Linked DNA regions of Homo sapiens: all the other regions are linked to region 3. Evidence: promoter capture Hi-C in 16 types of primary human blood cells and fetal thymus (Javierre and others, 2016). All regions are on one chromosome and are shown on one strand. Each heading gives the region's core, a stretch centred on a gene start or on the middle of the fragment in contact. The rest is flanking DNA. Distances are from core to core; before and after follow the strand shown. Region 1 holds the start of BPIFC (BPI fold containing family C). Region 2 holds the start of LOC105373000 (a long non-coding RNA gene). Region 3 holds the start of SLC5A4 (solute carrier family 5 member 4). Region 4 overlaps SLC5A1 (solute carrier family 5 member 1).

Region 1 (2,700 bases), core at 193-2,692, 210 kb before region 3:
GTTTTAGTACTGAAAATCCTGCATTCTTGGGAAACCAGGACAGTTGGTCACCGGGTCTTACCCAGAAAAGTGTAGATAAGCCATAAGAACTTCATGCAATCAGGCTGGGTGCGGTGGATCATGCCTGTAATCCCAGGACTTTGGGAGGCCAAGGCAGGTGGATCACTTGAGGTCAAGAGTTCAAGACCAGCCTGGCCAACATGGTGAAACCCCATCACTACTAAAAATACAAAAATTAGCCAAGTTTGGTGGTGCACACCTGTAATTCCAGCTACTCAGAGGGCTAAGGCACAAGAATCGCTTAAACCCTGGAGGCAGAGGTTGTAGTGAGCCAAGATCATGCCACTGCACTCCAGCCTGGGTGACAGTGAGACTGTCTCAAAAAAAAAAAAACCAAAAAACAAAAAAAAAAACTTCATACAATCAAATCCCTGGCCATCTAAAATACATTAATGGCCGGGTATGATGGCTCACATCTGTAATCCCAGCACTTATGAAGCCAACACGGGTGGATCAATCACATGAGGTCAGGAGTTCGAGACCAGCCTGGCCAATGCAGCGAAACCCTGTCTGTACTAAAAATACAAAAAATTAGCTGGGCGTGGTAGCGCACTCCTGTAATCCCAGCTACTAGGGAGGCTGAGGCAGGAGAATTGTTTGAACCCAGGGGGCGGAGGTTGCAGTGAGCCAAGATCGCTCCACTGCACTCCAGCCTGGGTGACAGAGTGAGACTCCATCTCAAAAAATAAATAAATAAAAATAAAAATAGATAAAACACATTAACTAAAATGAATTTATTGGAGATGAGAGTAGGGCTGGAGTTTGGAATCTGAAAATGTTAAGTTGCATAATAGTTGATGAACCCACCCACCCAACTTAGGTTTAAGGAATGCTGGAACAGTAAGTCATTAATAACATTCTGAAAAGGAGCGGACGGACACTGAGAGATGCCAACTGAGGTCCTACCCTGAGTGATAAGGTAACTAGGTCAGCCCGATTGTCAAGCCTCATGCTTTCAGACTGAATCTGATGATCCACCACAAGTCCCAAAGGTATTCTGGGCAGTAGTAGAGCCATCCACCGCAGGCACCCTGACCAGAAGGAACCAGCTTATGATTCCAGACAGGAAAATTCTTCCTCTTCCAATGCAGTTTAACACCGTTTTCAATCATTTTGGTAAAGTAGCCATCACAATTTCACAAGTGGTGTGTGTGTGTGTGTGTGTGTGTGTGTGTGTGTGTTTTGCAGGAAGATAATTATTGCATAGGTGGCACTGTCTGTTTATCTAGGTAGATACTGTAGTGCTCATTCATGCCATTGGGTAATTGTAGTGAAGCAATTATGTATCACATTTTGAAAGAGGCATTAAAAAAATTCACCACTGAGATGAGTCAGACTTAATTATCTTGGCTTTTTAGCAGCTGAGTTTAAGGCGCAAGGTGGAGAACACATCAGCTTCAAAGGCAGAGAGAATCGAAGGTGCTCTCCAGCTTTGGACACTTCCTCTGCTTGAGGTAAGACTCATGAACAAACTTCAGGTCTCTGCCAGCCATGATCTCCAAACTGGAGATGTCCCAGATTTGGTAGGACACTTTGAACAGGCAGCTGTCATATATCCTGGGTTATTATTATTGTCTGCCTAGATTTTTCTGTATCTTTGTTTGTTTGTTTGTGTGATGTCACATATGCGCACCTGGAGGCTTCTTAGGCAAAAGCTTTAGTGACAGCTAAACAGCCATAAGAGAGAAAAGAGTTGGTTTAAACCACCTACTTAGTTTTGCATCATGGAACAATGTTAAGAGGGTTGCTCAGTGATCTGGACTTATTTTTGCCTCCATTTCAGAGGGGAACCCAGCACAGTGGCAGAAAATTCTATCTTGTCTCTCAAAATCAGCATGGTTAGGACTAAGGAGTTGTTATAATCTCTGTGCTTTCAAGGCAGGTCTTAAAGCACATCAGTGACCTAGATCCTGCCAGAGCAAAACTAGCCACCCACTTGCCTGGACTGTTGAACTTGTTGGTGTTAGGCATAGAGTTTTGGGGAAAAGACATGCTATGAATTCTCAAGGTCCTTGTCATTAGAGATGTTGCTATAAAACTAGATGTGAGGAGTGGATCCCTTGAAATATTCTGCCCACGTTCCATACCTGTCGATTTAGACTTCTTATGTACGGTCATTTTGTCTTAACCAATATGTCGGAATACCCTTCTAGTTTAGACTTCTTTAAACCTGTTGAACTTAATTTTTCAACCTGCGCCTCTGTTTTGAAGGCTACATTTTACTCATTCATTACTCCCTTAATCGGTTTTTCCAGAGTCAGTCAAAGCTCTTGCCAAGCAGCAGTAGTAGTAGGACCATCTGTGAGTTTCAGGTGTTTTCTAAATTGGACTGGCATTTTCTTAGCTGTCAGGATGACTCACACAAGGACCATTTAATTTAGGAGTATTATTCTGTCTGTGTATTTGTATGGAAAAATAATGACTACTGAGATTTTGAATCTTGGAAAGAAGCAATTCCCCAGAAGCAACAAAATAGATAACTTGCTGGTGGGGTTTTTAAGTGATCTTGGATCCTTTTAACAGGCAACTAGCCCTGCCTGCACTTGTCAGCCAAATTACTTAACCTTTTAGTAGTCATCACCTTGCTTGACAAGGTTCCTTTCCTCCCCTGCCCATAAGTTATCATCGTAACTGAACAAT
Region 2 (2,700 bases), core at 37-2,536, 130 kb after region 3:
GCCCCCAACCTGCCCCTGCCTCGGACACTGAAGCACCTGCTGGCACCTGCAACTTGCCCCCAGCCACGGGCACTGCAGCCCAGGGTAGCAACCTCAATCCGCTCCATGCCATAGACGGTGTAGCCATGAATAGCGGCCCCAACCAGACCACCGCCACTGGCAGTGACGCCCCAATATGGCACCCAAACTACCCCCCACTGCAAGCAGTGCAACCCCAGATAGCGCTCCAATCTGCTCCCACCGGGAGTAGCAGCCCAGGATAGCGCCCCCCATGCACTCCCTGCCTCTGGCAGTGCAGCCATGGATAACGCACCCAACCCACGCCCTGCCGCTGGCAGTGTAGTCCCCAATAGTGCACCCAACCTGCCCCCGCCCCCTGAGCCAACGTGGCCCCAGATAGCATACTCACTGGCTCCCTGACAGGCAGTACAGATCTCTGATAGCACCCAGCCCACCCCCCTCCACCCACCATGGGCAGTGTATCCTCAGTAGCACCCCCAACCAACCCCCCACCCCCTCTCCACGGGCATTCTGGTCCCTGGTAGCACTCCCAATAAACCCCGCTACTTCTGCCTCAGTGTAGCCCCCGATAGCAACCTCAACACCCCCCTCCCTGCCGCCAATAGTGTAGCACCCTATAGTGACCCTAACCCGTCCCCCACCACCAACATTGCAGCCCCAGATTGTGCGCTCAACCCACTCCCTGCTGTAGGCTGTGCAGCCATGGATAGTGCCCCCAACCAGCTCCCAGACGCAGGCAATGATGCCCCAGATACCACATGTCCCACCCACCACAGGCAGAGTAGCACCCAATAGCGCCCCCAACCTGTGCCCAACAAGGGCATTGCAGCACCCGATAGTTCTCCCAACTCACCCCCTGGCCGCAGGCAGTGCATCCCCAGATAGTGCCCCCCAAAACCACCCACTGCCGCTAGCAGTACAGATTGGGATAGTGCCCCAACCCACCCCCAGCCACGGGCAGCACACCCCAGATAGGGCCCCAACCCACTCCCCTCCACAGGCAGTGATGCCCCAGATAGCACACCCAACCAGCCCCTCAACACGGGCAGTGACGCCCTGGATAGGGACCCCAACCCACCCCCCATGCCTCAGGCAGTACCTCCTGGGATAGCGAACCTATCCCACCACCTTTTTACCATCCTGGCTGCACTGTCGTCTTCCTTGCCACCACCAACCACAGCAGCAAGGGGAGCCAAGGCAGGCTCGAGTCTCCAGCGTGCGTGGCAAGTGCCTCCTCCTCCTTCTCCTGTAAGCCTGGAATGGAGCAGCTACACCAGTGGACACTGAAGAGCCTAGAATGAGGAGCCGCCTCACTTGGCATCCTTTATATGTGGAGTTGATGCAAATGAAGTTCCTGGACTACATGTTCTGATTGGACAAGAGAAACCTCTAGGCCTAGTCTGATTGGACTTTGTTATCATGTTCTGATTGGTTATCCTAAGACTTCCTCTCATCCAGTCACAACACGAAAATAAAGCCCAATCATAGTAGACCTAGAGATTTTTCTCTCATCCAATCAGAACATGTAGTCCAGGAACCTAATTTGCATAACCTTTGTAAGCGAGAGTCTTGCCATTCCAGGTTCTTCTACGTCTGCCCGCCCATCTGTTCCGACCCCAGATTAGAGAAGGAGTTGTCACCGGTGGCATGCTGGAGGCTTGAGCCTGCAGCAGCATGGCTCGCCTCACTGTGGCTGGTGGCAGTGAGGTAGAGTACAGCACAGCCAAAGTGGTAGAAAGGTGGCAGAGTAGGTGAGCTATCCAGGGACTTGTGGCGGGGGGAGAGGGGCAGTGAGCTCAGGGGCCAAGGATTGGATGCACTATCGTGAACTACACTGCCCAAGGTGAGGGGGGGATTGGGGGCGCCATCTTGTGTGGGGGGTGTGTTAGGGGCAGTACTGGGTGTTGCACTGCCCACGGTGGGGAATGGTTGGGTGTTATCCCAGGCATCATTTCCTGCAGCAGTGGTGGGGTGGGGGCTTGTTGGGGGCCTATCTGTGGCTGCATTGGTCACACGAGGCTCGAGTTGGGGTGCTGTCTGGGACATCAGTGCCCATGGTGGGGAACTCCTTGGGTGTGATATCTGAGGTGTCACTGCCCATGGCTGGGGGCTGGTTTGGGGCGCTATCTATGGACTACACTGCCCACAGCCAGGAACGTGTTGGGGGCATTATCGGGAGTGGACTGCCAGTGGCAGGGGTGGAGGGACGGGTTGGGTGCTATTGGGGGGCTGCACTGCCCAGCAGGGAGTGTGTCGGGTGCACTATCCGGGGTTGCAGTGCCGGCAGTGGGTGGCAGATTGGGTGCACTATCAGGGGCTACACTGTCGCGTCAAGTGAGGGGTTGGCGGCGCTATCCTGGGCTACACCGCCAGTGATGGGGGGCATGTTAGGGTCGCTATCTGGTGCTGCACTCTCGGCAACGGGGTGGGTGGCGGTTGGGCGACCTACCCGGGCGTCACTGCCCAAGGCTAGGGTCTGCTTGGGGGCGCTATCCCGGGAGTCACTTCCCATGGCGGGAGGCTGGTTGGGGGCACTTTCCGTGGCTGCACTGCCAACATCAGGGAGCAGTTTGGGGGCATTAACCTGGGCTGCACTGCCAATGGCAGGGGGCAGGTTGTGGGCACCATCGGGTGCTGCAGTATCCTAGATGGGGATGAGTTATGGGGCATTATCAGGGG
Region 3 (2,700 bases), core at 28-2,527:
TAAGAAAGAATAACAGAGGTTACCAGGGCCTGGAGAGAGGGAGGGATGGGGAGTTAGTTTTTAGTGGGTACATACTTCTGTTTGGAGATGATGAAAAAGTTCTGGAAATGGATAGTGGTAATGGCTGCATAACACTGTAAATGTACTTAATGCCAATGAATTGTACACTTAAAAGGGATTAAAATGGTAAATTTTATGCTATGTATGCTTTGCCACAATAAAAAATGAAGTATAAAAGAAGAATTTCTGGGCTTTCCGTTTTTTCATGTGTGTTTTTGGTTTTGTTTTTTTGTTGTTGTTTTTTTTGTTTGTTTTTGAGACAGGATCTTGCTCAGTTGCCCAGGCTAGAGTGCAGCGGCGTGATCATGGCTCACTATAGCTTTGACCTCCCAGTCACAGGTGATCCTCCCTCTTCAGCCTCCCAAGTAGCTGGGACCATACGTGTGCATCACCACACTCAGCTAATTTTTATAGAGACAAAGACTCCCTATGTTGCCCAAGCTGGTCTTGAACTCCTGGCCTCAAGTGATGCTCTCTCCTTGGCCTCCCAAAGTGCTGGGATTACAGGTGTCAGCCACCGCATAGGCTTTACTTCTAACTTCTTCTTGGCTGTAGTCCAGGAGTCTTGTTTCCTGAGTCCTCATGATCCCCATCACATGCTTCCAGGTTGATTCACTCTTTGTACAACCCTCTGACCCAGCGCTCTCCACAGCTCTGCCCTCAACTCACCACATATGGTGCTTGAAGAGCCACTTCCTTTCCTATACAGGCCACCAATGTCTTTTTGTGGCACATGAAACCCACTTCAGAGAAATGTGGGACTTTGGAATCCACGAAAGGCATAATTCACTTCACTGTCAAGGGATATAGCTCATTGGTCAGAAACTGTATCTGTTCTCTGAAGGACCATTGCATTCGGTCCCTCCTGGCTGGTTTCTGGTACCTTCTAGTCTGTCCTTCTCCCCTCCTTGTCTGTCTTCATTTCTCTCAAATCCCCCCTCCACCTGGGCAAATCTCTTTAAAGACCCTGTCTTTGCACTCAGAGAACGCCCCATGCTCCACCTCAAATTCTCCCCTCATTTCTGGCCCTGCATCCCTCATTCTCACACTCTACCTAGGCTAGCACTCACTGGTGGAGGGCTGGGGTGCCACAGCTTTGGAGAAGAGGTTTAAAGGTCTCCATATCCAGGAGCTGGCTCTGATATCTCGCCCCACCTGCCTGAGGCTGATCATTAACCCAGAACTTATATAAAGATGGCTCATGCGTGGAATGGGTATAGCACTGCCTGCAGCCATGGCCAGTACGGTTAGCCCCAGCACCATAGCTGAGACCCCAGAGCCACCTCCATTGTCTGACCACATCCGAAATGCTGCTGACATCTCAGTCATTGTCATCTATTTTCTGGTGGTGATGGCTGTTGGGCTGTGGGTAGGTGGAATCCCAGTGGCTTTTAGGGTGGGCACAAGGTTTAGGAGGGGGTATCTTAAGGGGGGAAGGGGTGTGGTTGTGACAAAGCTTTTCACAAATGTCATTGTGTTATCAGAATCATTTTCTTGTGTGTTGCATAAATAACGCTTACAATGAACTAATGTATTCTCCTAATAACCCCATCGTGTGCACACAGCCAGCACCGGGACCTTCAGATTTACTATGCATCCCCAACACCTGGCATAATGGACAAAGAGTGTATTTTTATTATCGCATTTCTTTCGCTTTCTTTTGTTGTTTGCTCACTTTCTGATTTAGTGAGTTGGACTCTTCATTTATGTTGAATTTTTTTATTTTAATAAATTTGAGACTGCAAATTTTTTTTTTTTTTGAGACGGAGTCTTGCTCTGTCGTCCAGGCTGGAGTGCAGTGGCGCTTGCTTGGCTCACTGCAAGCTCCGCCTCCTGGGTTCACGCCATTCTCCTGCCTCAGCCTCCCAAGTAGCTGGGACTACAGGCATGCGCCACCACGCCCGGCTAACTTTTTGTATTTTTAGTAGAGACGGGGTTTCACCATGTTGGCCAGGATGGTCTCGATCTCTTGACCTTGTGATCCACCCGCCTCGGCCCTCCAAAGTGCTGGAATTACAGGCGTGAGCCACCGTGCCCGGCCGAGACTGCAAATTTTATTGCAAGCATGGCTCAATGATACCTCACATGGTTTTCATAAGTGAGAATAATCAGAGCAGTTAAGATAGAAGTTAAGGATTATGATTTTTTTAAGTTCTTCCAGCCCTGGGTTTTTACAAAGCGACTGTTTTTGAAGTCCTTTAAAATTTGATGCTATAGAACACTTTCCAGCGAAATGTTTCTCTCTGTAGGAGTGCTGAAGTCACCCCTCTCAGCACCCTGGCCAGAGCCTCTGGGGTGTCTGGGTGCACTTGCTGGGGCTTGACCCTCACCTGTCTTCCCTTCTGCTCAGGCGATGCTGAAGACCAACCGAGGTACTATAGGAGGCTTCTTCCTCGCTGGTCGTGATATGGCCTGGTGGCCGGTAAGTGGATCGAAGTTTTCTGGAGATAAATTTCCTGTGTGTGTGCTTAAAACTGAATGTAGGCTGGGTGCGGTGTCTCACGCCTGTAATCCCAGCACTTTGGGAGGCCAAGGCTGGCAGATCATCTGAGGTCAGGAGTTCGAGACCAGCCTGACTAACATGGTGAAACCATCTCTACTAAAAATACAAAAATTAGCTGGACGTGGTGGTGTGTATGC
Region 4 (2,700 bases), core at 62-2,561, 170 kb after region 3:
CTGCCTACAGGGCCTGTAGTCTCTCTACTCCTGATTTTCCAAGCAAGCTTTATTCAAGATGATAATACGTATTCCATGAGAAAAAGAATTCCATGGTCAAAAAGGTCTATAAAATGCTAAACAGAATTAAGGCAGTTTCTTTGCCACACAACTTTTCTGAGCCTTTAATATATGCCATGTACAGTCATCCCCAGGGAGGGAACACGGTACATGACATCTCACAAACTCACTCAACTATTGAACTCTTTTTGCCAAGGAACAGCTATTAACACTTAGAGGTTCCTTGCAAGTCACCTGTAGACTGTTGCTCTGAGCTATTGTCCATCTTTTGCACCTCAGTGTACACAGGTTTATCAGAGCTCGTCCCCAAAAGCAAGTCTGAGTGCTGGAGAGTCCATAAGTGAGAAACCCCACCCCCACCCAGGAGCGGGGAGAAACTTAGCAAGTTTGTAATTTTAACTCCCCAACCCGGATGCAGTCCATCTTGACTCAGACACAACCAGAACATCACCAAGCACCTCTTACATAGCAGGCTTGGTACTTGCTGGTTTTATTTAGATTATTTCATGTAATTTCTGGGAGAATTGCTCCCTCCTCACTCCTGAATTCTTGATGCAGTTCTTCCATCTTCACCCTTTCTCCTCCTTCCTGTCTCTTTCAGCCTTCTCCTAATGAACCTTCTACCTGGCTGGATGGTGCAGTTGCTCATATAAACCAGCAGAGAGCACCAGGGTCACCCCAAATGCATGTTCATGTCATCTCCAAAACAATACCAGGGAGGGTAGTATTAAGGGATGATCATGGTGAGTCTTTTTTATTTATTTATTTTTTGACAGAGTCTCACTCTGTCGCCCGGGCTAGAGTGCAGTGGTGCGATCTCAACTCACTGCAACCTCTGCCTCCTGGGTTCAAGCGATTCTCCTGCCTCAGCCTCCTGAGTAGCTGGGATTACATGTGTGCACCACCACACCCAGCTAATTTTTGTATTTTTAGTAGAGACAGGATTTCACCATGTTGGTCAGGCTGGTCTCGAACTCCTGACCTCGTGATCTGCCTGCCTTGGACTCCCAAAGTGCTGGGATTACAGGCGTGAGCCACTGCGCCCAGCTGAGTCTTTTGTTTTCAAATCTCCAGGTGTGGACGAAACTGGACTTCCCTAGATGGAATGAATGCACGAACTGTTTTCACTGCACAAACCCTAACATTTCACGGCACGCAAACAGCACCCAGACGGAGCCTTGGGGATGGGCCAGCAGGGTTGGACTCTTACTTCTCACATCTCCTCTTATATCTTGCATCTCCTCTCTAGTTCCGTTTCCCAGTCCCCATCCCATTGCTGCTCCTGAGGGCCCTCCAGTGTTTAAGTTTCCCACCATACCTGCCTGTCCCTCCTATGAGAATCTCCTATTCCCTCCCTCCATCAGTTAGCAAAGAGCACATCTAATACCAACTCCATGCTTCTGAGCTAACACGTGAGCCCTGGAGGGTGATTCGACCTCCTTCCCGAAGGTGGGCCTTTTGAGGACCTGATGCCATAGTTCCCCTCTGCCCAGATCTCCCCTGAAGATTCTCTCACCCAGGGGACCCAATGTCACCATCTTCCCTGGTGAAGGAGGGGAGGCAGAGCCAGGAGGTGGGAGGAGAGATGGTGAGTTAGAAAGAAACTCCTCTCTCCCTGGAGTTAGCAGTCAGAAGAACCAGCATTTTAGCCCCAGTGCCGCCACTCTAGGCCTGCAAACCTTTGGGCAAAACATTTCCCCTCTCTAATTCTCAGTGTCCTCGTGTTTATGCAGGAAGTCCTGGCTCCAGGGACTTGTGATTCTCAGTGGTTGGAAGTGGGAAAGGTCTGCAGTGAGGAAAGCATTCTTCTCCCGGGTTCTGGACCGCTTCCATTCTGCCTTGCCCTCTGCAGTAGCCCAAGAGGAGGAAGGCGCCTCTGCTGTGCATAAGTCTTGCCAAAAGTGAAATGGCCACTTCTTCCTGACTCTGCACACTGGGCCATTTGAAATTGTAATGAATATTTATAATGCTGGTCCCTCTCCTCTCATGCCTCTACACAGTCACATAAAGTTACTTAAATTCAAGGGGCCCCATTCACTGATTGCAGTGAAATTCTGTTAAATGCACACACGTTTGATTTGGTGGATTAGCTAATAAGTGTAAATAAGATAGGAAAAGATTACAAAGCTGACACTGCCTTTAAACTGCCCTTGGTTGATTTTCCAGAGTAGTTAATTTTTAATGCTTTATGACAACATGCCATCGTAGACTGTGATACCCTCATTAATATGTGCCTTGCTGTCATTAGTCACAAAGAGGCAACACATAAGTTATAAGATAATGCTATAAATGACCTCTATAAAGACTTCTGAAAAGTGTTGGGCTAATAAAAGTCTTGTTTTTATGATATTCTATTTCCTTCTAACAGTACAGATAAAGGATTCTAAGGAAACCTCCCTGGTGAATTGAAGAAACCTAGGACAAATTCTTCCTCGCATGAGTCATTCTAACTTCAGAGATGAATTCTGCCTTGGCATGCCAAAGGCCAGGCTGGGAATACCTTAGCTAAGCTTATGTAGCTGACTCCAGCTGAGCAAGGCCACTCTAGTCTGGGTGCTCTGACATTAGTCTTTGGTCCTTCCTAGCTGCCAAACAAACCCACTAGGGTTGTTTTTTTTTGTTTGTTTGTTTGTTTGTTTT

Evidence for each region. Contacts are between HindIII fragments. The CHiCAGO score rates a contact against its expected background, and 5 or more counts as called.
Region 1: the fragment with the promoter of BPIFC here is called in contact with the fragment with the promoter of SLC5A4 in region 3 in 1 of 17 cell types (M1 macrophages); the score reaches 5.3 in M1 macrophages.
Region 2: a contact is called between a fragment that was not itself captured here and the fragment with the promoter of SLC5A4 in region 3, in 1 of 17 cell types (monocytes). The highest score is 5.3, in monocytes.
Region 4: a fragment that was not itself captured here is called in contact with the fragment with the promoter of SLC5A4 in region 3 in 3 of 17 cell types (activated CD4 T cells, monocytes and M1 macrophages); the score reaches 6.5 in activated CD4 T cells.

Annotation. Positions count from the first base shown.
Region 1 is chr22:32,463,188-32,465,887 of GRCh38, reverse strand. BPIFC (BPI fold containing family C) reads left to right here and starts at 1,442. Exons shown (of 17, transcript NM_174932.3): 1 at 1,442-1,514. The HindIII fragment of the contact is 5,490 bases long and covers 1-1,717 here.
Region 2 is chr22:32,120,575-32,123,274 of GRCh38, reverse strand. It overlaps LOC105373000 (a long non-coding RNA gene), which reads left to right and starts at 1,606. Exons shown (of 3, transcript XR_938172.3): 1 at 1,606-1,864. It also overlaps the pseudogene AP1B1P1. The HindIII fragment of the contact is 8,321 bases long and covers 1-2,700 here.
Region 3 is chr22:32,253,924-32,256,623 of GRCh38, reverse strand. It overlaps SLC5A4 (solute carrier family 5 member 4), which reads left to right and starts at 1,277. Exons shown (of 15, transcript NM_014227.3): 1 at 1,277-1,429; 2 at 2,411-2,482. The coding sequence starts at 1,295. All of the region lies in intron 2 of SLC5A4-AS1 (SLC5A4 antisense RNA 1), which reads right to left. The HindIII fragment of the contact is 3,569 bases long and covers 1-1,518 here.
Region 4 is chr22:32,079,123-32,081,822 of GRCh38, reverse strand. The region is part of intron 5 of SLC5A1 (solute carrier family 5 member 1); the gene reads right to left. Among named protein-coding and RNA genes, the nearest start is that of SLC5A1, 37 kb to the right of the region's middle. The HindIII fragment of the contact is 2,523 bases long and covers 50-2,572 here.